Regions from separate parts of the Homo sapiens genome. Here all the other regions are linked to region 3. The links are contacts of gene promoters, found by promoter capture Hi-C in blood cells and fetal thymus (Javierre and others, 2016). All regions are on one chromosome and are shown on one strand. Each heading gives the region's core, a stretch centred on a gene start or on the middle of the fragment in contact. The rest is flanking DNA. Distances are from core to core; before and after follow the strand shown. Region 1 has its middle 26 kb from the start of RIPK1. Region 2 holds the start of LOC101927759 (a long non-coding RNA gene). Region 3 holds the start of SERPINB1 (serpin family B member 1).

Evidence for each region. The method cuts DNA at HindIII sites, captures the fragments that hold promoters and counts their contacts. A CHiCAGO score of 5 or more calls a contact.
Region 1: a fragment that was not itself captured here is called in contact with the fragment with the promoter of SERPINB1 in region 3 in 5 of 17 cell types (activated CD4 T cells, naive CD4 T cells, total B cells and 2 more); the score reaches 6.7 in activated CD4 T cells.
Region 2: a fragment that was not itself captured here is called in contact with the fragment with the promoter of SERPINB1 in region 3 in 12 of 17 cell types (activated CD4 T cells, total B cells, naive B cells and 9 more); the score reaches 8.3 in activated CD4 T cells.

What each region holds. Positions count from the first base shown.
Region 1 is chr6:3,040,249-3,044,323 of GRCh38, forward strand. No RefSeq gene overlaps it. Among named protein-coding and RNA genes, the nearest start is that of RIPK1, 26 kb to the right of the region's middle. The HindIII fragment of the contact is 1,713 bases long and covers 1,695-3,407 here.
Region 2 is chr6:3,022,207-3,026,400 of GRCh38, forward strand. It overlaps LOC101927759 (a long non-coding RNA gene), which reads left to right and starts at 1,857. Exons shown (of 3, transcript NR_152848.1): 1 at 1,857-1,967. It also overlaps the pseudogene HTATSF1P2. RefSeq lists enhancers at 1,031-2,230, 3,674-3,783 and a silencer at 3,269-3,563. The HindIII fragment of the contact is 6,369 bases long and covers 1-4,194 here.
Region 3 is chr6:2,840,154-2,844,748 of GRCh38, forward strand. It overlaps SERPINB1 (serpin family B member 1), which reads right to left and starts at 1,710. Exons shown (of 7, transcript NM_030666.4): 1 at 1,659-1,710; 2 at 266-441. The coding sequence starts at 433. RefSeq lists a silencer at 1,605-1,654. The HindIII fragment of the contact is 1,424 bases long and covers 515-1,938 here.

The DNA.
Region 1 (4,075 bases), core at 1,301-3,800, 200 kb after region 3:
CTGAGATTCTCTATGGAATAAAGTTTCAGCAAAACCAAATTTAAAAAGTAGAAGAGTCTATATGCAAAATAATTATTCTTGCTAACTTTATGCAAATACTCAAGCCAAGTTTAATAAGGCTAAAACTTATTTTACCAATAGATTTGTTCTATTATAATTTGTTCTTAGTAAACTGGAAAGAAAAATTATGTTTCAGAAAAGCTGTAGTACATCTGTCATCAAATTCTAGTCTTGTTCACTGCTTTAAAGTTTTTTATTATTTTCCACAATTTTAACTAAATCCTGAATTCTTTCTGGGCTATAAGTTCCCAATGCATTCAACATTTTTTTCCTTTTATTTTTCTAATTTAAACTCAATGGAGTTCGCCCGGGCGCGGTGGCTCACGCCTGTAATCCCAGCACTTTGGGAGGCCGAGGCGGGTGGATCACGAGGTCAGGAGATCGAGACCACGGTGAAACCCCGTCTCTACTAAAAATACAAAAAAAATTAGCCGGGCGCAGTGGCGGGCGCTTGTAGTCACAGCTACTCAGGAGGCTGAGGCAGAAGAATGGCGTGAACCCGGGAGGCAGAGCTTGCAGTGAGCCGAGATCGCACCACTGCACTCCAGCCTGGGTGACAGAGCAAGACTCCGTCTCAAAAAAAAAAAAAAAGAAAAGAAAAAAATAAACTCAATGGAGTTGCTATTACCTCTTTCCTAAGGTCCTGCAAACTAAAGTCCATTCTTTAAAATACAAGCAAAGAAAGAAAAGGGTCAGATTGCCACTGCCTTCCTCCTCTATAACTAAAAATGCTTTAACATCTGGATAAATTGTGCCCAATGTTAATCTTTGTTTTTTTTTTTTTCTGTTTCCATAAAAATGCCTCATTAAAAATTTGTTTGTCTTCATCATATGCAGAGGCTTGTAAGGCACACCTCTACATCACAAACTCCAAGGGGTCTGGCCTTGTCCTAGGGGCTTTAATTCGAGCCCATTGCAATTACACCCTCAATTATAACCAAACACACCAGGAATGGGAGACAAGTTCACTGTTTACCTCCACAGGTTTTTTCTGTGGTGGGGAAACAATAAAGTTAATGCCAGCAAAATGTGTAGTAATTCTTTCATGCCTATAAATAGTTCAGCAACTGGAATGGAATATGTAGAAATAAAGGTCAAAAGTAAACTAACTCCTCACTAGTACATCTACAAACTTTTCCTTGATTTTCTCTTATTGAATTAACATTTAGAAATCTTATCTCTCAGGCCCCACTTCTGTCACCTATAATAATGCTTATATTAGCTTATTCGCATTACGTATTATTAATGCAATATCTTGTTTTGTGTCTTCTAACACAACAATTTCAAATTTTGTGAACACAACCATTTCAAACTAAAATGTCACTGCAGTGAAGGTATCAGCCACTAAAAGAACTCCATGACTCTCCTTTGGATACAGCAGGACAAAATTTTAGGCTACAAATGCTGCCCCCAACCCCATGGTTACACAATGACTCTGCCCAATTAACTCCCAAGCCAAGGATTTAGGCCTTTGTAATTTCCTGACAGAGTAACAGGATTAGGTAGGGCCGGTTCGGTGCCCCTGGTCAGCAGGAAGCAGTTGGAAGATGAGATCTTTGTCCACATACCAAAGATTTGTTATTGTTGCTCTGTTAGTGGGGAAATGTGGAGCCCTAACTAGGGAAAGGGAGTCAAGCTTGCAGGACCAAGGGAAAGCAAAAAGAGAAAGCAGATAAGCTACAAGTCTGCCTTTCTCATGGTCTGGGATACATAGCCCTCCTGTGCAAATAATTCAGTCTTCCTGCACCTAGCTATCACAGAACACCTGCAAGTTAACTCACTGCAATCTTGGTATTATCAGTACTACACAAAGCCCTCTTCAGCATAAGCACTGCCCTACAAAATCTCCACAAGTCTTTGTTTCTTTGCAGTCAGCTTCTGCTGACTTGTCCATTGTCTCTCTGGCAATGTATTTTCCTACTTTCTCTAATAAATCTGCCTTTCTTTATCAACAACTCTCTTGGTAAATTATTATTATTTTTTTGTGAGATGGAGTTTTGCTGTTGTTGCCCAGGCTGGAGTGCAATGGTGCAATCTCGGCTCACTGCAACCTCTGCCTCCTGCGTTCAAGTGATTCTCCTGCCTCAGCCTCCCGAGTAGCTGAGATTATAGGCGTGCGTCACCACGCCTGGCTAATTTTGTATTTTTAGTAGAGATGGGGTTTCTTCATGTTGGTCAGGCTGGTCTTGAACTCCCGACCTCAGGTTATCTGCCCGCCTCGGCCTCCCAAAGTGCCGGGATTACAGGCGTGAACCACTGCGCCTGGCCTGTCTTGGTAAATTCTTATACACCCCACACCACTGTCCTAGATAGTTGTTGCTCCCCGCAACAAATACCGTGAGTATCTCTATGCACATACACTTTAGACGAGATGAACCAATTCCTAGAAAACTACAAACTGCTAAAACACGCCCAAGATGAAATAGACATAATAAAATAATCCTATGACTATTGAAGAAATCAAATGTATAGTTAAAAGCCTTCTAAAAAGAAATCTCCAGGCCCATATGATTTTACTGATGAATTCTACCAACTATTTAAATGAGAAGAAAACATCAATCCTATACAATCTCTTCCAGAAAATAGAAAAGGGACACTTTCCAACTCATTTTATGAGGCTTTTATTACTATTATAACAAAAACAAATACAAAAAAGAAAATTATAGACCACTGTACCTATATCATTATGTGTTTTTGAATACAAAGAAATCCTCAACAAAACATTTGCAAATCAGCAATGTATAAACAGAATAGTACAGCATGGCATAATGGTATTTATTATATGAGCAATGTATGAAAAGAATAGTATAGGCCAGACACAGTGGCTCATGCTGGTAATCTCGGCACCTTGGGAGGCTGAGGAGGGTGGATCACTTAAGGCCAGGAGTTCAAAACTAGCCTGGCCAACATGGCGAAACCCCGTCTCTATTAAAAATACAAAAATTAGCCAGACGTGGTGGCGCATGCCTGTAATTCCAGCTACTCAGAAGGCTGAGGCAGGAGAATCGCTTGAGCCCGGGAGGCAGAGGTTGCAGTGGGCTGAGATCGCACCACCCCACTCCAGCCTGGGCAACAAGAGTAACAAGAGTGAGGCTCTTTCAAAAAAAAAAAGAGTAGTACAGCATGACATAATGTTTATTATACTAGCAATGTATACAAAGAATAGCACAGCAAGACATAATAATGTTTATTCCGGGAATGCAAGTAAGGTTCAATATTTGGATATCAACCAATGTAATCCACCATAGACTAGAAAAAAACCCACATGATCCTATTAATTAATGCAGAAAAAGCACTTGACCAAACTTAATGTTGTCCATTCATGGGGGAAAAGGAACCTCTTAGCAAGCTTGGAATAGAAAAAAAAGTCTTTTTTTTTTTTTTTTTTTTTGAGACAGAGTCTTGCTCTGTAGAGAAGGGGTTTCACCATTTTGGCCGGCTGGTCTTGAACTCCTGACCTCAGGTGATCCACCCGCCTCAACCTCCCAAAGTGCTGGGATTACAGGTGAGAACCACCATGTTGGGCCGAAAAAAAATGTTTTTAATTTGACAATAGACAACTAAATATCTACAGCTATCATTATGCTATTCTCATAAAATTAAGAATAGGCCAGGATGTCCATTCTCACCTAGTCAGTGCAATGAAAAGGAAAATTTACAAAAAGGCACACAAATTGGAAAGTAGGCAATAAAACTATCCCTATTTGCAGATTATATGGTTGTATATGTAGAAAATTTCAAGGAATATACAAAAGAAAAAACAAAACAAGGCTAGGCACGGTGGCTCACACCTGTAATCCCAGCATTTTGGGAGGCCTAGGTGGGTGGATCACCTGAGGTCAGGAGTTCGAGACCAGCCTGGCCAACATGGTGAAACCCCATCTCTACCAAAAATACAAAAATTAGCCCGGCGTGGTGGAGGGCGCCAGTAACCCCAGCTACTCAGGAGGCTGAGGCAAGAGAATAGCTTGAACCCAGAAGGCGGAGGTTGCAGTGAGCCAAGACTGCACCACTG
Region 2 (4,194 bases), core at 400-2,899, 180 kb after region 3:
AGGAGTTCAAGACCAGCTTGGGCAACATAATGAGACCCATCTCTACAAAAAATTTAAAAATATACATTAGTTAGGCATGGTGGCACGCACCTGTAATTCCAGCTACTCAGGAGGCTGAAGCAAGAGGGTCACGTGAGTCCAGGAGTTCAAGGCTGCAATGAGCCATGACTGTGTCACTGCACTCCAGCCTGGATGACAGAGCAAGACTCTTTTTAAAAATAGCCAGGCGTGATGGCTCTCACCTGGAATCCCAGCATTTTTGGAGGCTAAGATGGGCAGATTGCTTGAGTTCAGCAGTTTGAGGCCAGCCTGGGCAACATGGCGAAACCCCAACCCTATAAAAAAAAAAAAAAATTAGCCAGGTGTGGTGGCACACATCTGCAGTCCCAGGTACTTGGGAGGCTGAGGTGAGAGAATCGCTCGAGCTGGGAGGCAGAGGTTGCAGTGAGCTGAGATCACACCACTGCACTCCAGCCTTGGGTGACGGAATGAGACCTGTCTCAAAAAACAAATAAATAAATAAAAATAATTTAAAAATCATTAATTGCCAGTTACAATGAAAATTTAAAACTTTTAAAAAATTTAGTCTGATGGCATTGTACCACTGTGCCGTGTTCACGTAACCCTACTAATAATCACCCTGACACACAGCCACATGCAGATGGAGGAACTTCCCTAAAAGCAAGTTTGAGGGATTAAATATCATCTTTGTCATCATATCCTCCTCTTTTCCCTTTTCCTCCTCCTCCTTGTCATCACTACTGAGGACAGCACTGCTGGCTGTGCCCAGGGGCCCTTCTTCCTCAACGCCCCCAGCACCACCCAAAGTCCCCCTCTGTGGAATCGGAGCACTGAGTGTGTTGGCCTCAGGGACACTGAAGGAAGCCGCCCGCCCGTCCTCTCAGCCTTGGAGTCTGTTCAACCATTATCATTCAAACCACCTTCCATCAAAGGTTTGAATACAATGAGCAGCTGCTCCTGCATTCCTCCAGGACACAGGTTCACCAGCTGGGTGTCTGTCAAAGACAATGAGCCTCCGAGTTGGTCCAAACTTGACTCTCCTTGAAGGTCTTCTCTGGCCATCCTCAAAATCCACAGGATGAAATGTGTTCGATGAGGACAACTCACTCGTGTCGCGGCGTTTGGATGGGCTGCGGCGTGGCCGCTTCTGCCGTAGAGACGGAGCCTTCCTGTGGTTCGCGCACTTCCTTCCTGAAGCCTCATATTTCCCATTCCGTTGATACTTGGCCACCTCAACCTGCAACGTGCAGTTTCCAGTGTCATCTTCATCCAAATGCATGAATGCAAGATCCACAGCTTCCCTCTTCCAATGATCGCACAGCCTGTCTCCTTTAAGATGTCCTTGGTTATCTCTGTAAAACTTGACCTTAAGTTCTTCTGTCTGGGGATCGCTCATAATAATGCCAAATGGACAGGCGTGTGAATGCCTCCACGGTAACGACCAGAGGCAAACCGGCACATACACGTTTGTATTTCTCCTTCTTCAGCATGAAGCCTTCCTTTTTCTCCCCTCTTTGTGGGATCAGTGGGTTTGGGGTTTTTCTTGGTGGCAGAGCAGCGCCGTCACCGAGCAGCCGTCGCTGGCCTGATATGCAGCGGTGAAGTCTTCACTGGTTTCTCTTCTGCTCCTGTGTGCTTGCAGAAACCGGGCTGGCTCTTGATTGGGATTGTAGGCTGCAGAGGCTGGGGAAGGGCAGACAGCCTCGGGAGACACGCCGGAAAGGGCGGCTCCCTCGTGCTCCTCAGTGACTCAGGGTTTTGGCCACATAGCTCCCCTCCTCCACCCTCGCTCAGCAGGCTGCATCCGGGGCGGGGCTGGCAGGCAAAGAGGCTGTGTCACAGCCCTTCAGAGCCTCAAGCTGGGGTCCCTAGGGTTTCTGGACCTCAGATCACTGTGAGGCAGGAGGTCCTCCACCCTCCCTCCGGCAACTCTGAAGTATGGGAAGGTGCGTTCTCGAACTGCCGAGGGGCCTGTTCCTGTGTGGGTTGAGAGGATGGGAAGTTGCTGAAATCCAACCTCTCTGAGAGCCGGTGCTGTCACCTTGGCCTGAGTATGCTGAAGACATTAATTCCGGTTCCCAAGCAAAACTGTTAGCAATTCGAGGGCTGGGCTCTTGCCTATGTCTCATCTCCTGTTAGTACCGGGCACCCTGATACATTTTCTGCCGGTTTTTAAGAATTTTTTTTTGAGACGGAGTTTCACTCTTGTTGCCCAGGCTGGAGTGCAATGGCGCGATCTCGGCTCACCTCGACTTCCACCTCCCTGGTTCAAGCGATTCTCCTGCCTCAGCCTCCCGAGTAGCTGGAATTACAGGCATGCGCCACCATGCCCGGCTAATTTTGTATTTTTAGTAGAGACAGGGTTTCTCCATGTTGGTCAGGCTGAACTCACCCGACCTCAGGTGATCTGCCTGCCTTGGCTTCCCAAAGTGCTGGGATTACAGGCATGAGCCACCGCGCCCGGCCGGTTTTTAAGATCTTATTGCTGAAAAACTTAAAATAAAAAATAAATTCAGTATCAGCAGGGCAGCAGGAATTGCCATTAAAAAAAAAAAAAGAAAATTGGAAATGACTGCAGCCAGGTGTGTGTGATTGGGCCCCGCGACCTTTTTCTTAGGCAAACAGGGCTTTGTGGATGCAGAAAGACTTCTTTGGTTGTGTAGTTTGTCTCAGAGCCTCTCGTGGGTGGAGCCTGGTAAAAAGAGGAAAGAGACTCATGTTGCTCAATGTGAGGAAGCACCAGGAATTTTGGAGAAGTTCCCAGCAGCTCAGGAGAGTGGCTGGTGCCTTGTCCCAGGGGAGAGGGAAATAAGCACAGGCCTATTTCTTTCTCAAGACGGAAAAACCGAGCCCCAGAAAATGGCGATAAGATGGGGATGCAGGAAAAAGCTAGCTAATGAACAGTTCAGCAGTGGGCACCGTGTGGGAACCTCTCCTAAGCCGCCCTCCCTCTGATGGATGCATGCTCAAGTGATTTCGTTGGCCCTTAAAGGAAAGTGTTATTCCATCCTGTAATCCTAGCACTTTAAAAGGAGGCCGAGGTGGGAGGATCACCTGAGGTCAGGAGTTCACGACCAGCCTGGCCAACATGGTGAAACCCCGTCTCTACTAAAAAATACAAAAATTGGCCGGGTGTGGTGGCATATGCCTATAGTCCCAGCTACTTGGGAGGCTGAGGCAGGAGAATCACTTGAACCCGGGAGGTGGAGGTTGCAGTGAGGTGAGATCGTGCCATTGCACTCCAGCCTGGCCACAGAGCGAGACTCCATCTCAAAAAAAAAAAAAAAAAAAGACATCTGCCCAAGGGTCATAGCTGTAGAGGGGCAGATGTGGTTTGAACCCAGGGCGTCTGGTTCCTCTCTGGAAGCAACCAAAGTGCCTGTGATTGGGGTAGTGACAAAGCACTCTGAGCCGCTGCATGGCAGATGCTGTGAAGAGTCATCTTTGCCTGTCCCATATCTATTCCCATTTTTTCTGATTGTAACACCTTGTTTTTTTGTGTGTGGTGGGGGAACCATGCCCTTTCAACCAAGCTATGTGGTGTTCATAAGGGTAGCCCCTCCTCCGACCCCAGGAGTGGCAGTTCACAGCCCTGACTGATCACAGTGTTCCGTGGCCTAGCTGTAACCACCCCAGGGAGTGAGACTGAACTCAGGGGTTCATTGGACCTATCAGGAAAGAGAGACCTTTCTTGTTTCTGGACTTGGAGCTGTGATGAAGTAAGTGGGTCAGGGGCCAACACATAGACAGCGTTGGCCTACAAATGCAGCCCAGGCAGAGGACGGTGCAGCCAAGCCACACAGAGAGACAACTTCCTAGTGACACGCTGTGAACTCCTGCATCCACCCCTGCCTGAACTGGAGCTTTTCCTCTTCAGCTCTTCAGTTATGTGAGGCAAGATGTTGCCTTTTTTGCTTAATGCTGTGAGTTGAGTGTACAGCAGTTACAATCAAAGAATCCTAAATAATGCTGCAAGCATGGTGACTATCTACATGGGAATATGCAGTACTCCAGTGAAGACAAAACATAAATTAATTTTGGAATCTGATGACCATAATCTAAAAACATTCATAGAGGTATATAAAAATTATAACAAAATTTAAAGTAGCATATCTCCTCATGAAGCAGGTTAAGTGTATACACAAAGAAGGAGGAGGAAAAGGTGAGAAAGAA
Region 3 (4,595 bases), core at 460-2,959:
CCCTGCAGGGATTTTTGTCAGCTTTGCTCACTGCTGTCTCCTCAGCAATACGAAAAACAGTTCCTGGTACGTGGTAGGTACTTAGGAAAAACCTGATGATGAATGGAAGCCTGCATACAAGTGTGACTTTTCTGAAAGTCTGATCTCATAAAAATACAGTTCTGAAAACACAAGGTAAGAGCTCAAAGGCACAACCTTTCCATGCAGACTGTCCATTCGTAGGGAGATGGGAGGAAAGCAGACCCTTTTTTTTGTTTCTGCTGACCTTGGACAGCTGTGCTGCCGTGTTACCTCTGGTCCCCAGAAAAACCATGGCCATAGCAGATGAAATGCTGAAGGGAGAGATGAAGATGTTTCCAGCCGGATTGTTCTCACTCAACGCCAGGAACAGGTCCAAGGCGAAGCGGGTGTTTGCTGAGCTCAGCTGCTCCATGGTGAAAACTGCAACACAGAACAGGGTCCTCATGGTGCCCACTGCCCACGCCAGCAGATTAGGCAGCACTATTTCTCCAGAAGCTTCCTCAATTTCTGCCAACCGCCCTGAGGCATCCTGGATCTTGTACTTTCTCCCCGCTTTTTTATTCCAGCAGGGCAAGAACACTTTCCCAGGCCCACAAATGTGGGACCATTCTGGCCAAGGACTCAGCAGTTATAGGGGATTTTAGGGCACCCAGGGTGCCCTAAAGGGCTCTGACCTTGCAGACAGGTGAGTCTGGGGGTGGGGCGGGGGTAAGGCAGGCCCCAGCTACCCCAGCTTTAGTGGGGTGGGAGGGCCCACCCAGCCCTGGGTCTTCCCAACCTATGTGTGGGAGCGCACGTGCTTCTGAGCCTTTGATTCAAGTCTCTGATTCATTGGGCAATGAATCCATTGCCTACCTTCACCTGAACTAAGAGCCTTCTATCAGAGACTCAGCTACCTACTATGCATTAAAACTCCAGCAAAGGTATCACTGTAATTATTATAATAATATAATTCTTCCTTATTTTTGAGGTTCAAAAGGTATGAGGTCCAGTGCCCACAGTCTCAGAGCCGGTGTAGGATGTGCCAGTTTGGAAACCCACCACAGTCCAGGGTCTGGCCGTGCAGCGTCCCATCCGCCACCCACTAGCCCATCTCGATCTCCACTCTCAGAGCCCTGATTTCCCCCGAGGACAGGCAAAGAAGAACCGTGCTGGCTGCTCGGCATGTAAGCACAAAGCTGATTTCTCCTTGTTGTGAAATCGTCTCTAGAATCGCACGGGGTTCCTCCTCTCTCTCCCTGCAGCTGCAGATAGGAGCCGCGGCCTGGCCCTGGGCTGCCTGGAAACCGTCACAAACAGCTCTGGGAGGAAGGGAATTCAGGGAGAAGGGACAACATTCTGATCTCAGGTTTCAGTCTTGCCTTCCGCCTGCATCTGTCGTCCTCCCTCCCTCCCTCCCTCGCGGGCTGGCCCGGCCTGTACCCAGGCGGGGGCGGGGGATCAGAGGTCGTCTGTCTCCGTCGGGGCGCCCGGAAGGGATGGGGGCGCGAAGCTGGCGGGGAGGGCGAGCGCAGGGAGCTGCGGGTCTGAGGGGCCTGAGCCTGGGGGGTGGGGGGTGCCGGGCTGGAAGCTGAGCGAGGGAGCCTGGCCTCTCCCCGCGCCCGCCCCCGCGCCACCGCTCCGAGGCCCGGCCTTACCCGACAGGCCGCCGAGGCACGCTCCGGGCTCCGAGCTGGGTGCGAGGTCAGGAAGGAGGCACCGAGGGCCGCTGCTCTTATAGCAGGCGGAAGCGTCACCCGGGCCAGCAGCCGCGGGCGGGGCGGCGGCCCTTCCCGGTGACTGCGTAGGAGTCCGAGCTCCCGAGGTCGCCTAAGTGCAAGCAGAAGTGAGCGTGGCTTCCGGGCAGCGCCCTCCTCAGGGGCGCGGCTTCTTTCTCAGTTCAAAGCCTTTCCCCGAATCTCTGGCAAGGACCTGAAAAGCTTTTTCTTACTAAGGTGTGAATGACTGAGACGACATATTGTGACACCTCTTAGAGGGCAAATGACTCCCTTTGAGTCCCATCTATATTGGGAGCTTTCTTTGAGAGAAGGAAGCAAATTTGGGGATCTTGCACAGGGAAAAAGAGGGGCCCCCAGAATCAGATGAAACAGAACCAGTTCCAAACACCTGCTCTCTGTTTCCAAGATGACAGCTTGCTGCTGCGTCCTCAATGGTGGAAAGTGGAAGGGCAAAAGGGGCCAAATCTCATGTGAAGTCTCTCGTATAAGGGGCCAATCCCATTCATGAGGAAGGTGCCCTCATAATCCAGTCACCTCCTAAAGGCACCACCTGTTAGTATTGCATTGAGGATTGTTTCAGCATGAATTTTGCAGGGAACACAGACATTCAAAGCATAGCATTCTGCCCCTGCCCTCCAAATTCATACCCCTCTCACATGCAAAATGCATGCATTGTATCCCAGTGGCCTCCAAAGTTCCAGTATCAACTTTAAAATGTAAGTCCAAAGTCTCACCTAAATATCTTCTAAATTAGAAAGGCATAAGATTCAAAGTACAATTCATCCTAAGTGAAATTCCCCTCCAGCTATGAGCCCGTGAAATCAAATAGGTTACAGGCCTTCAAAATACAGTGATGAGACAGGCATAGGACGTACATTCCCATTCCCAAAGGGAGAAGCAGGCAAGAAGAAAGGAGTATCTGGTCCCAAGTAAGTCCAAACCCAACAAGGCAAACAGCATTAAATCTTGGGGCTTCAGAATAATCTTCTTTGATGCTGTGTCCCCCATTCCGAGCACAGGGGGGTGGAGACTGGGTCCCCTAGTGTCCAGGGGATCCACTCCCATGGATTTGCCAGGTGCAACCCATGCAGCAGCTCTCACAGGTTGAGGTCTAGGCTCTCCCAGGATAGACTTGCATGCTGGTGGCTGGACAGTTCTGGGTTCTCAGGGACAGCCCTGTTCCCACAGCTCCACTAGATATTACTCTATTTGGGGCTCTCTGCAGTGGCCCCAATCCCACTGCTCCACTAAACATTGCCCTAGTGAGGGTTTTCTGCAGCAGCCTCACCTCAGTGACAATTCTCAGACTGGGCCCCCAGGGTCCCCAACACATCCTTCAAAATCTAGGTGGAGGTGGCTGTGTCTCCACAGTTCATGCACTCTGTGCACCTGCAGAGTTAGCATCACGTGGACTCTGCCAAGGCTTACAGGAAGGGTGGCCTGACAAGGGCCTGCATAAGCCACACGTGGGATGGTGGCCAAAGAGTGCTGCACCAGAATGTGGGGGGTGGGGGGGCAGAGACTTGAGGCAGCCCTAGGCAGCAAGCCCCAAGGTTCCATGGTGTCCTGAGTCCTCCCTTAAAACTATTCTGCCCTCAGGGTCCTGGCACTCTGGGACAGGGATGAGAATCCAGAACCAGTAACCTCAGAAATGCCTTTGGGTTCATTCTTCCATTGTCTTGATAAATAGCATCTGGCTTCCTTCTACACATACTCATCTCATTATCAAATGTGAACCTGGCAGCACTCTTGGTGTTCCCTCCCAAACATGCCTTTTCATTCTTTACATGGCCAGGCTGAGAATTTTCCAAAACTTTAAGCTCTGCTTCCCTCTTGATTATAAACTTCGTTTTTAATTCATTCTCTCTGCTCACATTTTACTACAAGCAGTCAAGAGAAGCCATGCTGCACTCTCAACGCTTTGCTCAGAGATTTCTTCCATCAAATATCCTAGTTTATTGCCTTTAAGTTCTGCCATTCAGAAAACACTAGGACATAGACACAATTCAGCCAAGTTCATTGCCACTGTGTAACAAGGATGACCTTTCCTCCAGTTTCCTTTTAAGATCTCATCAAAAGTGTCTTTACCATCTATACTTCTAACCGCATTCTGATCAAGACCAGACCACTTAATTAATCTCTAAGATGATTTAGGCTCTCCCTACAGCTCTCCTTGTCTTCTGAGCCCTCACCCTTAATTTCCCTTAAAGCTCTGTTTATGTCTATACAGGCTTTTTCCAGCATGCATCTCCAAATTCTTCCAGCCTCTACCCATTACTCAGTTTCAAAGCTGTTTCCACATATTTAGGTATTAGTTATAGCAACATCCCATTCTCAGTATCAATTTCTGTCATAGTCCATTTGTGCTGCTATAAATACCTGTGATTGGGCAATTTATTAAAAACAGAAATGTATTGCTCACAGTTCTGGAGGCTGGGAAGTCCAAGAATAAGGCATCCACATATTTGGTGCCTGGTGTGGGCTGCTCTCTGCTTCCAAAATGGCACCTTGTTGCTGCATCCAAGGGGGAAATATACTGTATCTTCACGTGGCGGTGGGAGGGATGGAAAGGGATGAACGCACTCCCTCAAGGGCCCAAATCCCACCCATGACGGTTCTGCCCTCATGACTTAAGCACTTCTTAAGGCTCTACCTCTTAATACTATCACATTGGTGATAAAGTTTCAACATATGAATTTTGGGGAGACACATTCAGCCCATAAAACATCTGTTCTGTCAGGTGAGGACACAGCATTTGTCCCTTCTGCCTTTCCCACCAAATGAGAACACCGCAAGAAAATGCCCTCATCAGACACTGAGTCTGCACCTGCAGATCTCGAACTTCCCAGCCTTGGA